2 separate regions of the Homo sapiens genome follow, and region 1 is linked to region 2. Evidence: promoter capture Hi-C in human tissues and cell types (Jung and others, 2019). All regions are on one chromosome and are shown on one strand. Each heading gives the region's core, a stretch centred on a gene start or on the middle of the fragment in contact. The rest is flanking DNA. Distances are from core to core; before and after follow the strand shown.

What was found. Contacts are between HindIII fragments. The study calls those that stand out against the background at their distance.
Region 1: a fragment that was not itself captured here is called in contact with the fragment with the promoter of CDC42EP1 in region 2 in 1 of the 25 tissues and cell types used here (liver).

What each region holds. Positions count from the first base shown.
Region 1 is chr22:37,877,108-37,883,149 of GRCh38, forward strand. EIF3L (eukaryotic translation initiation factor 3 subunit L) reads left to right here. Exons shown (of 13, transcript NM_016091.4): 11 at 567-1,064. Among named protein-coding and RNA genes, the nearest start is that of MICALL1, 26 kb to the right of the region's middle. RefSeq lists a silencer at 2,971-3,130. The HindIII fragment of the contact is 6,851 bases long and covers 1-6,042 here.
Region 2 is chr22:37,558,984-37,565,131 of GRCh38, forward strand. CDC42EP1 (CDC42 effector protein 1) reads left to right here and starts at 1,497. Exons shown (of 3, transcript NM_152243.3): 1 at 1,497-1,605. RefSeq lists enhancers at 2,133-2,739, 2,740-3,347, 2,816-3,045, 3,348-3,954, 4,482-4,982 and 1 more. The HindIII fragment of the contact is 19,033 bases long and covers 1-4,969 here.

The DNA of each region.
Region 1 (6,042 bases), core at 2,100-4,599, 320 kb after region 2:
CTACATACCCGGGCTACATGGTATAGCCTATGGCTCCTTGGCTACAAACGTCTAGAACATATTACTGTACTGAATACCATAGGCAGTTGTAACACAAAGGTATTTGTGTATCTAAGATACAGTAAAAATACAGGATTATAATCTTGCAGGATCACCATCCTATATGTGGCCCATGGCCCGTTGTTGACTGAAACGCTGTTGCACGGCACATTACTATTTAGTCTATATTTCTGTCGTCATCAAGGTTGCATCAAAGGTTTTGGGTAACTCGATCCTAACTGTGTAAAAGGATTGACCTGCTAGTGATGTGTGGGACAAACTGGAGAGACTAAGACAGAGGTGCCAGTAAGGAATCCAGAAGATGGCTAAGGAGGATCTGGAGCTAGGATGGAAGTTAGGTAGATCTAGAGGGAGGATTGGAAGAGATGTTGGGGAAGTTCAATGGCTGGTATGAAACAACTGGGTAAGTCAAAGATCTGTGCAGAGAATGGTGAGGCCAGTTGGCAGTGGGGACCTCAGGAAGTCCGTCTCATTTGACCCAGTACCACTCTCCACCCCATCCCCAGATTAACAAGCAGAATGAGCAGATGCATGCGCTGCTGGCCATTGCCCTCACGATGTACCCCATGCGTATTGATGAGAGCATTCACCTCCAGCTGCGGGAGAAATATGGGGACAAGATGTTGCGCATGCAGAAAGGTGACCCACAAGTCTATGAAGAACTTTTCAGTTACTCCTGCCCCAAGTTCCTGTCGCCTGTAGTGCCCAACTATGATAATGTGCACCCCAACTACCACAAAGAGCCCTTCCTGCAGCAGCTGAAGGTGTTTTCTGATGAAGTACAGCAGCAGGCCCAGCTTTCAACCATCCGCAGCTTCCTGAAGCTCTACACCACCATGCCTGTGGCCAAGCTGGCTGGCTTCCTGGACCTCACAGAGCAGGAGTTCCGGATCCAGCTTCTTGTCTTCAAACACAAGATGAAGAACCTCGTGTGGACCAGCGGTATCTCAGCCCTGGATGGTGAATTTCAGTCAGCCTCAGAGGTTGACTTCTACATTGATAAGGTATGCCTGTCCCCTGGGCTTGGGGTCTTGTATTAAGTGTTCAGTATCTTTCATTCACTATTGTGGGCACATGAAGTATATCGGGGAACAAAAAGATTCCTGGCCTTGTGGTGCTGCCACAAGGTGCCAGGTGTGGTGGCTCATGCCAGTAATACTAGTACTTTAGGGGAGGCTGGGGTGGGAGGATCACTCTAGCCCAGGAGTTCAAGACCAGCCTGGGCAACGTAGTGAGACCTTTTCTCTATTAAAAAAAAAAAAAAAAAAACACAAGAGATAAACAATAGATGGTTTTGTTTTGGTTTTTTTTTTGAGATGGAATTTCGCTCTCGTTGCCCAGGCTAGAATGTGATGGCACGATCTCGGCTCACCGCAACCTCCGCCTCCCAGGTTCAAGCCATTCTCCTGCCTCAGCCTCCTGAGTAGCTGGGATTACCGGCATGTGTTACCATGCCCAGCTAATTTTGTATTTTTCGTAGAAATGGGGTTTCTCCATGTTGGTCAGTCTGGTGTCAAACTCCCAACCTCAGGTGATCAGCCAGCCTTGGCCTCCCAAAGTGCTGGGATTACCAACAATAGATGTTATAATTAAACAATAGATGTTATAATTAAACAAACTATGTAGTAAGAAGTTGCCAAGCACTGCAGAGTAAAGGAAGGCAGAGGTGGTGGGAAGCACAGGTTGCAATGTTAAATACGGTGTTCAGACAGGCTTTGTTGAGAAAGTGAAGTTTAAGCTAAGCTAAGACTTGAAGGAGGTGAGGGAGTAGTGTTTTGGTTTTTTTTTTTTTTTTTTTGACAGTCTTGGTCTGTCGCCCAGGCTAGAGTGCAGTGGTGCAATCTCGGCTCCCTGCAACCTCCGCCTCCCAGGTTCAAGCAATTCTCCTGCCTCAGCATCCTGAGTAGCTGGAATTATAAGAGGCCGCCACCACACCTGGCTAATTTTTGTATTTTTAGTAGAGACAGGGTTTTGCCATGTTGGCCAGGCTAGTCTCAAACTCCTGACCTGAAGCGATCCATCTGGTGGAGAGTTCTTAATAGCTCACCAAAGGCTGGACACGGTGGCTCATGCCTGTAATCCCAGCACTTTGGGAGGCCGAGATGGACAGATCATGGGGTCAAGAGATCAAGACCATCCTAGCCAACATGGTGAAACCCCATCTCTACTAAAAATAAATTAGCTGGGCATGGTGGCGCATACCTGTAGTCCCAGCTACCCGGGAGGCTGAGGCAGGAGAATCACTTGAACCCAGGAGGCGGAGGTTGCAGTGAGCTGAGATCGCTGCACTGCACTGTAGCCTGGCAACAGAGCGACACTCCGTCTCAAAAAAAAAAAAAATAGCTCACCAGATATCTGGAGGAAGAGCCTTCCAGGCAGAGGAACAGTTAGAGCAAAGGCCCCGAAGAGGAGTGAGGCCAATAAGTTTAAGGGACAGTTGTAGTATGCCCGAGTAGCCTGAGAAAGGAGGCTGTGAAGATGAGATTGGAGAAAGGGGGATGGTGCTTTGTATACTGTTGGAGTACTTTACAAGTGGGAAGCCATTGTCCTGCTGCCTTCTTTATTTTTTTATTTTTAGTTAGCAATAATCACACCTCACATAACCCTCATTGGCCATACTGCCACTGCACAAAGCTTTTTTTTTTTTTTTGAGATGGAGTGTCATTCTGTCGTCCAGGCTGGAGTGCAGTGGCACGATCTTGGCTCACTGCAACCTCTGCCTCCCGGGTTCATGCGATTCTCTTGCCTCAGCCTCCTGAGTAGCTGGGATTACAGGCTCACACCACCACACCCAGCTAATATTTTGTGTATTTTTAGTAGAGACAGGGTTTCACTATGTTGACCAGACTGGTCTCCAACTCCTGACCTTGTGATCCGCCCGCCTCGGCCTCCCAGAGTGCTAGGATTACAGGCGTGAGCCATCGCGCCCGGTATTATTTTATTTTTATTTTATTTTATTTTATTTTGAGATGTCTCGCTCTGTCGCCTAGGCTGGAGTGCAGTGGCGCGATCTCAGCTCACTGTAAGCTTCACCTCCCAGGTTCACGCCATTCTCCTGCCTCAGCCTCCCGAGTAGCTGGGACTACAGACACCCGCCACCACACCTGGCTAATTTTTTGTATTTTTTAGTAGAGACGGGGTTTCACTGTGTTAGCCAGGATGGTCTCAATCTCCTGACCTCGTGATCCACCCACCTCGGCCTACCAAAGTGCTGAGATTACAGGCGTGAGCCACTGCATCCGGCTCTCTTTTTTGAGACAAGGTCTCACTCTGGTTGCCCAGGCTGGAGTGCAGTGGTGTGATCTCAGCTCACTGCAGCCTCAACTTCCTGGGTTCAGGTGATTGTCCTACCTCATCCTCCCAAGTAGCTGAGATTACAGGCGCACGTCACCACGACTGGCTAATTTTTGGTATTTTTAGTAGAGATGGGGTTTGGCCATGTTGCCCAGCCTGGTCTCGAACTCTGATATGTGCCACTGTTCCCAGCCGATTTTAAGTTTTTACTTTATAGAAACAGGGTCTCACTTTGTTGCCCAGGCTAGTTTCAAGTGATCCTCCTACCTTGGCCTCCCAAAATGCTGGGATTACTGGTGTGAGCCACTGCGCCTGTCCTGTCCTGATGTCTAACATCTTGGATTAGTGCTGCCTGTTTGTGAACTTTATATAATGGAATTACACAGTATGTACTCTTTAAGTCTGGCTTCTTTTGCTCAACGTTATAATTGAGTGAGTCACCGTCCATTGTGTGTAGCAGTGATTCCTTCATGTTTATTGTTCTGTGATAGTCCAGCATCTGCTGTTGTTATTGTACTGCAGTTTATCCATTCTCCCATTGATTAACGTTTGGATGGTTTGTATATTACAAAAAATACAAGTAAGGTTTTTACAGAGTGGCTAGTAATACATTTATATATGCCTATGTATGCCTCAAGTTCTTTCCAGAAGGATACACAAGCAACATAGCAGTAGCTTCCTCTCAGGAGGGGAGGTGGGTTGAAGAACAGTGTTAGTTTTCACTGGCACTTTTAAGTTCAAGCTGGACATTTTAATGTCTGATGAGATTTTCATTTTTATTTATTTATTTAGAGACAGAGTCTCATTGTATCACTCAGGCTGTAGTGCAGTGATGTGATCTTGGCTCACTGCCACCTCCGCCTCCTGGGTTCAAGCAATCCTTCTGTCTCAGCCTCCTGATTAGCTGGGACTACAGGCGCTGATGAGCTGATGAGGTTTTTAAAAGAATTGTTTTCTTTTTTTTTAGACTGAGTCTTGCTCTTGTTGCACAGGCTGGAGTGCAATGGCACAATCTTGGCTCACCGGAACCTCTGCCTCCCGGGTTCAGGCGATTTTCCTGCCTCAGCCTCCCGAGTAGCTGGGATGTACAGGGATGCGCCACCATGCCCAGCTAATTTTGTATTTTTAGTAGAGACAGGGTTTCTCCGTCTTGGTCAGGCTGGTCTCGAACTCCCGCCCTCAGGTGATCTGCCCGCCTCGGCCTCCCAAAGTGCTGGGGTTACAGACATGAGCCACCACACACGGCCGTCAGCCCAGGTTTTCTAAGATCAGCAAATGTCCATAGGGCAGAGGGGGTCTTCTGTGCTTTTCTTAGAATGGTTTCTTTTTTCCCAAAATGTTCTGTTACTATCTTGTCAGCTCTTTGATGCTGTAAGTTTTTTTCTAATATCCTGCATTTTTAATTGTTTTTGAAAGCATTTTGGGCCAGGTACAGTGGCTTATAGCTATAATCCCAATACTCTGGAAGGACGAGGCAGGAGAATTGCTTGAGCCCAGGAGTTCAAGACCAACCTGGGCAACAAACCAAGACCCTGTCTCTACTTTTTAAAAAGAGAAAAAGCATGCTGGGCATGATGGCTCACGCCTGTAATCCCAGCACTTTGGGAGGCCAAGGCGGGTGGATCACCTGAGGTCAGGAGATCAAGACCATCCTGGCCAGTATGGTGAAACCCTGTCTCTACTAAAAATATAAAAATTAGCCAGGCATGGTGGCACATGCCTGTAATCCCAGTAACTTGGGAGGCTGAGACAGGAGACTCACTTGAGCCCAAGAGACAGAGGTTGCAGTGAGCTGAGATCAAGCCACCGCATTCCAGCCTTTGTGACAGAGATGAGACTGCATCTTGAAAAAAAGAGAAAAAGCATTTTGGTCTAAATGTATTGTTGGAAATAGCACTTTTTGAGCAGTTCTTAAAAATACATAATTTTAGGCTGAGTGCAGTGGCTCATACCTGTAATCCTATCACTTTGGGAGGCCAAGGTGGGTAGATCATCAGAGGTCAGGAGTTCAAGACCTGCCTGTGCAACATGGTGAAACCCCGTCTCTACTAAAAATATTTAAAAAATTAGCCGGGCATGGTGGTGCGTTCCTGTAATCCCAGCTACTCGGGAGGCTGAGGCACGAGAATCACCTGAACCTGGGAAGCAGAAGCTGCAGTGAGCCGAGATTGTGCCACTGCACTCCAGCCTGGGCAACAGAGTGAGAGACTGTCTCAAAAAAAGAAAAAAACATAATTTTTATACATAATTTGCATGATAAGCCGGGCGCGTTGGTTCACGCAAGTAATCCCAGCACTTTGGGAGGCCGAGCTAGGCGGAACACGAGGTCAGGAGATCAAGACCGTCCTGGCCAATATGGTGAACCCCATCTCTACTAAAAATACAAAAATTAGCTGGGCGTGGTGGCGGGTGCCTGTAGTCCCAGCTACTTGGGAGGCTGAGGCAGGAGACTTGCTTGAACCTAGGAGGCGGAGGTTGCAGTAAGCCAAGATTGCACCACTGCACTCCAGCCTGGGCAACAGAGCGAGACTCCACTTCAAAAAAATAAAAAAAGGCTGGGCATGGTGGCTCACGCCTGTAATCCCAACACTTTGAGAGGCGAAGGTGGGCGGATCACTTGAGGTCAGGAGATCAAGACCAGCCTGACCAACATGAAGAAACCCCATCTCTACTAAAAATACAAAATTA
Region 2 (6,148 bases), core at 247-2,746:
CCCGGCCACAACAGCGCTCAGCCAGTCTCCTTCAGCCGGGTTTGCCTCCGCTGCAGGGTCCTCCACTCCCAGCCTTTGCTGTGCTGTCCCTTGCCAGCTGTGCACTGTGCATTTCCACTGCCCTTCCCTCTGCCTACACGTCCTTTAAGACTTAACTCACAACCATGCAGTGGCTCACACCCATAATCCTAGCACTTGAGGAGGCCAAGGCAGGCGGATCACCTGAGGTAAGGAGTTCAAGACCAGCCTGGCCAACATGGTGAAGCCCCCTCTCTACTAAAAAATACAAAAATTAGCCGGGCGTGGGTGGGTGCCTGTAATCCCAGCTAGTCCGGAGGCTTAGGAGGGAGAATCGCTTGAACCCGGGAGGTGGAAGCTGCAGTGAGCTGAGATCATGCCATGGCACTCCAGCCTGAGCAACAGAGAGAGACTCCGTCTCAAAAAAAAAAAAAAAAAAAAAAAAAAAAAAAAAAAAAAAAAAAAGAGAGAGAGAGAGACTTAACTCAGGTATCATCTCCTCTAGGAAGATTTCCTGAGCCCCCAGGCCCTGCAGGAAGTATTAGGGACCTCTCTGTGCCCTGACAGCCCGAGGACTCTATAGTCAGATGGGAGTAGTCAAAGGAGGGCACAACAACGGGAGGCAGGGGCCAGAGATCTATCTCCCCTCCTTGAGGATGGCACAGGGTCCCGGGTATGGCTGATTCCCTGCCCTCCATGGAGGTGGGCGGGGTGGGGGGAGGGTCTGTAAAGTCTCTGAGATGCGACTTCATTTACCTGCCGAGCAAGCCTCCTAGGTGCTCTTGGAGCAGGAAACACTTCACACAACATCTGATGCTGCTATTATCTATCCCACTTTCAGATCAGGAAACTGAGGCAGAGAAAGGTAAGTAGTGACTGAGGCAGGACAGGAGCCCAGGCTGTCCGGCTCCAGGGTCCCGGTCTTGACGGCCACTCTACCCCACTCTACCAGTCGCCCCAGTATGGCTGTCTTCCTCCTGGGCACCGCGGGGCCTGTACCGGATGGAAGGGAATGAGAATGGGGAGCAAAGGAGTGGGCATGTCATGCCTGTAAACATCAAGGTTTAAAGGCCCAGGCATTCAAGGCCTCAGATCGAGCTTCCCGGTTCCCCGAACTCCCGCAGGGCGCGGCTGGAGGGCCCAGGAGGGAGGAGAGTTCATCAGGCCTGGACGCCCCAAGCAAGGCCACGAGGGGAACCGGTGGAAGAGGGGTTGGCGGCCGGGGACCGGAGTCGCCTCCCCGGGGCAGCCCGCACGTTCCCCGGCTGGCCTTGTCCGGGGTGGCGAGCAGAGGCCTGGCCTGGCCCCCCAGCCGCGTCCCTGCCAGCTCTCGGCGGCCGCGAGGACGGTGCCGGGGAGGGGGCCGGGGAGGGGGCCGGGCCCCGCCCGCGGGCGGGAGGAGACGGGCGGGAGGCGGGAGCGCCCACACCCCGCCCCCGCCCCCGGATCCAGCCCGCGGAGCCCGCGGCCAGGGCGGCGCAGACCGGCCCAGCGACTCTCCCGGGCTGCCAGCCGGGACGCGCGGCCGCCGCCGCTGCAGACGACGAGTCCGCCCTCGTCCCGCGCCCCCGGGGCTCGCGGAGCCAGGTAACAGCCCGGGCGCGCGGGTCCTCGGGGCGGAGGCCGTGGAGGCCGGCGGGTCCCGGCGCCCGCGGGGACTCTGCACCCTACTAGGCTCCCGGGGCCGGAACGGGGACGGGACCCGCCCGGGAGAGGCGCCCCCGGGTGCCCACAGGAAGGCCGGGCGCGGCCGCGGAGCCGCGCGAGGAAACTCCGAGCTTTCGGGCTTCGTGTCCCGTTCCAGGCTGGTGGAGGGGGCAGAGGATCGGACACGGCTGAGCGGCCAAAATGCGCGAGGAGGGGGCGAGCCGAGGGGCAGAGCGGGGGCTGTCTCCGCGCCTTCCTGCGCGGGGGAAGGAAGGGCCGGGGCGGGCAGCGGGCGACGCGGCGGAATGTCTCCCCTCCGCCGAGGCCCACGCGGAGAGCGGGAAGTGGGGGGTGGGGGGCCCGGGGAGATGGACAGGCACCCTGCCCCCCTCCCCGACCGCCGCATTCCAGGCTGGAGCCGCGGATGAGGTCATCCCGTCCGGTTCCCCTCCGGCCAAGACAGCCGGTCGTCCCCTTCCCCCGCGGAGCGACCCTCCGCGTCCTGAGCCCCGTCCCCCCAGGGAATGTTGGATGGCCGAAGTCTTTCCCGGACTTCCAATCCCGGCCGCCCTCCAGATTGTTCTGCCTTTGCCCCAGCAGTGCCAGACCCGCAACATTCGAAGCCCTTTTCCTAGACCGGGAAACTGAGGCTTAGAGAGTAGGGGGGACTGGCCGGGAGGCCGCAGCGGCACTAAACGTGGCGCGGGGACCCGAGACGCGGCCCGCAGCCGCTCCGTCTCGCTCGGTCCCGGGCTGGTTCGGCTCTAACTCGGGGCGGTGGGCACGAAGCGCGTCTCCTTTCCACTTTCCCCGTCGCTCCCTAATGGCCCACGGTGCCCCCCTTGGAATACGGAGGACCGGGTCCCCTAGCGCGACTGCGAACAACTAGCTACCCCGTTCTGGCCTCAGTTTCCCCGTCTCTCCACCTTGAAGCGTCTGGACTTTGAGGAGCAGGAGAAGTCAGCCGACCGGTTTAACCCCTTATTCCAGGGACCAGAGCAGGTTTGGGGGAGCTGCCGTAACCATGACAGGGACCCGCTGTCCAGCGGTGGGGGGGGGCGTCACCCAGCTGGATGCCCGCAGGAAGTGGGCTGTGTGCACCCGAGCAGTGGCCTCCAGGATGAGACGTGGGCCCCTGGCCAGCACTGCGGCCTGCGGGTGACCCCCAGGTGAATGCCAGGGTGCAGCCGCCCCCGCTCTCCTTCAGACCCGCCCTTGGCCTCCCCGCGACCACATGTGCCTCCACAGCGACCCCTGTTGGCCCGATCCCGGCTCCAAAACTTGTTCTTGCGTCATTCCCACCATTGAGTGAGCTCAGGCCATGTGCCCAGGCCCTGACTATCCTCTATAGGGTAAATATAAGGACTCCAAGGACACTGAGGCTGTGTGGTGACCTCCTTGCCCAGGTCACAGGCAGTGAATCTGCAGAGCTGGGTCTCCTGTCTTCCCAGGCCTGCACCTGCACCCCACACCGGGCTCAGCACTGGGCATCCAAGCCCTCCAAATCGTCTTCCCCATTCCCCATCGTCTTCACCCCCACCCTGGGGCATTTACCAGCAATGTTGGTCTGTGACTGAGGGTAAATGTCTCCTTTCTGAGCTTCGTTTTTTCCATCTGTGAAAGGGGTGTTCTGAACACTAACGGGCGGTGTTCCTGAGCAGGTGAGGGGAGGTGAGCCTGGCACCAGGACACTTGGAGCCCTGCTTACTCCAGTGCCAGGTGAGGCACACCTGATGGCCAGCAGTGCCCTGTGGTTGGCAGCAAGTGCCACGTGGCTGCCACCGGGGTCCCTGGAATGAGAGATGTTAGTGTAAAGGTGTCAGATTTGAACCCATGGCTGCCCTGCTCCAGTATCTGAGGGTTTCATTACATTTTCTACCCTTGCAACTCCCCTGGGAGGGGAACTGCCTGGTGTGCTGTTCCGTTTTCCACATGGGAAGACCGGGTCCCAATACCCTGCCCTCAGCTCCACAGCGCTGCAGAGTCTCTCGACCGCAGTAGGCAGGGTAGTGTGAGGGGTGGGTACTATTGGGGGGGTGCCCAGAAACATTTGAAAGATGGGATCATCGCAAGATTGGGGAGGAAGCTGGTCCCCCAAGTCAAAAGTGACCATGGGGGTTCAGGGGGGAGGAGCCCCTTTTGCTGGGAGATGAGGTGCTGCCTCAAGAAGTCAGGGAGGCCAGGTGTGGTGGTTCACACTTGTAATCCCAGCACTTTGGGAGGCTGAGGCAGCAGGATGGCTTGAGTTCAGGAATTTGAGACCAACCTGGGCAATGGAGTGAGACCCTGTCCTTACAAAAAGTGGAAAAACTTAGCTGAGCATGGTGGTATGTGCCTGTAGTCCCAGCTACTCAGGAGGCTGAGGTGGGAGGATCGCTTGAGCCTGGGAGTTCGAGGCTGCAGTTAGCTGTGATGGAGCCACTGCACTCAGCCTGGGTGACAGAGTGAGACCCTGCCTCAAAAAAGAAAAAAAAAAAAGTCAGGGAGCTGGGGTGGGAGCAAGTGGGTAAGGCCACATGGCAGACCCTTCTACAGGACATTGTACAGAGGAACACCCTTCCCGCTCCCATTCCTTCCCCCAGAGATGCATCCTTAATCCCTGCTGAGCAGGGAAACTTGGCCCTGCCATGAACCTGTCACTTAACCTTGGACAGGTCTCCCTTCCCTCCGAACCTCAGTGCTGCCTGTCAAATAGGCCACGCTGCGGCTTTGCAGGGTTGTTGGAGAATCAGATGACATCATGTAATGGTTGGCCAACTGTGGATCGCTTCAGAACTTCAGCAAACATTCCACGAGGACTTCTCGGTGCCGGGGGTGCCAGGGAGGGAAGAAGATGATTCAGAAGTTCCCCCCCACGAGGGGGAGGAGTTAGGGTTGGGGGAGGATCAGATGGTGGGAAGGGAAGAGAATGTAGTCAGAAAACAAAGCAAGCTTTGTCCTATTGGCTTCTTTGTTCTTATCTTGTTATTTAACCTATTTTGAATTTCAAATAACATTAGAAGGGCAGTATTGAGATTTCTATGCTTGGAGGTGGCAGCAATGGTTTTAAAAAAGGAAGAAGGCTGAGCCGCAGACATAGGTGTTCTTAAGGATCATTATTGACTTTTATCAGCTGAGGTCCCAGGTCTGTGTAGGTAAGTGACTTGCCCAAGGTCACATTGTGAGGACACAGAGCCCAGCCTGCCCTCCCACTCTCAGAAGGGGCCAGGGTGATGTTTTGGCATGCAGGTTATCATGGAGATCTGTGATTCAGCTGGCATTGATTTGGCACTTGTTAAGTGCAGAGCCCAAGCTAGATGCCCAAGGGAGAAAGGCAGGAAAATCCAGGCGGCCTCCCCACCCTCCAAGTGCATTGCCGATCTCGGGAGGCGAGACTGGGCTCCACAAGCCAGTCAAGGGCTTATGTGAGTCAGAGGCTCTGAGTTCAAGTCTCAACTAGCTCTGTGGATCTGACCTCTAGCCAGCTTTGCCCTCAGTGGGCCACAGGAAAAGCATAGGATCACAGGTGCGCTCTAGCCTGGACTTTGTATGACACTAGAAGGAAAGGGGTCAGAACAAGAGATGCTTAGAGAAGCTGGAGCAGGGGAGGATGTGTGTGTGTGTATGGTGGGGGTGGGGAATCAGGAAGGAGAGATGCACAAGAAATAGCTTTTGGCACCAGCTGAGCTTTTTCCAAAGCTTGCTCCCTGACAGCAAGGCTCCTACGTCAGTTTGACAAACTGTGATAAAGTCTTTTCCTGCGGGCCTTCTCAGAGACTTGAATATGCTCACGCATGGAGGAGGCAGCTGGAAAAAGCCACTTTTGACCACAGGATCCTTATTCCAGGAAGCTCCTTGAAGGTGGATGGTTCAGAGGAACCTCTGCTCTGGCTGTTTACCCAGCTTCACAAAGCTTTGGTGAGGTGTCTGCTCCCTCCTGGCTTCGCTGCGTGGCAGAGATTTTAATGCACAGAGAAGGGAGGTGACTTACTCAGTTACTCAGCAGGAGGCAGTGTAGCCTGGGGCTCCAGGGCTCTGGGATGTGGGGCCTGTTTCACCATTTCTTACTACGTAGCCTCAGGCAAGTTACGTCACTTTGTGCCTCAGTTTCCCCTCTCTAATCTCATGCTGCCCTCAGGAGTAATGTTTTTGTTGTTGTTGTTGTTTGTGAGACGGAGTCTCGCTCTGTCGCACAGGCTGGAGTGCAGTGGCGCAATCTCGGCTCACTGCAACCTCTGCCTCCCGGGTTCAAGCAATTCTCCTGCCTCAGGCTCCTGAGTAGCTGGGATTACAGGCGCCCGCCACTACGCCCAGCTAATTTTTTGTATTTCTGGTAGAGACGGGGTTTCACCATGTTGGCCAGGCTGGTCTCTAATTCCTGACCTCGTGATCCACCCGCCTTGGCCTCCCAAAGTGCTGGGAATACAGGCGTGAGCCACCGCGCCCAGCCCCTCAGGAGTATTGTATGGGTTTAAACGATGAGGCGGGTGAGGTCTTGGCACTT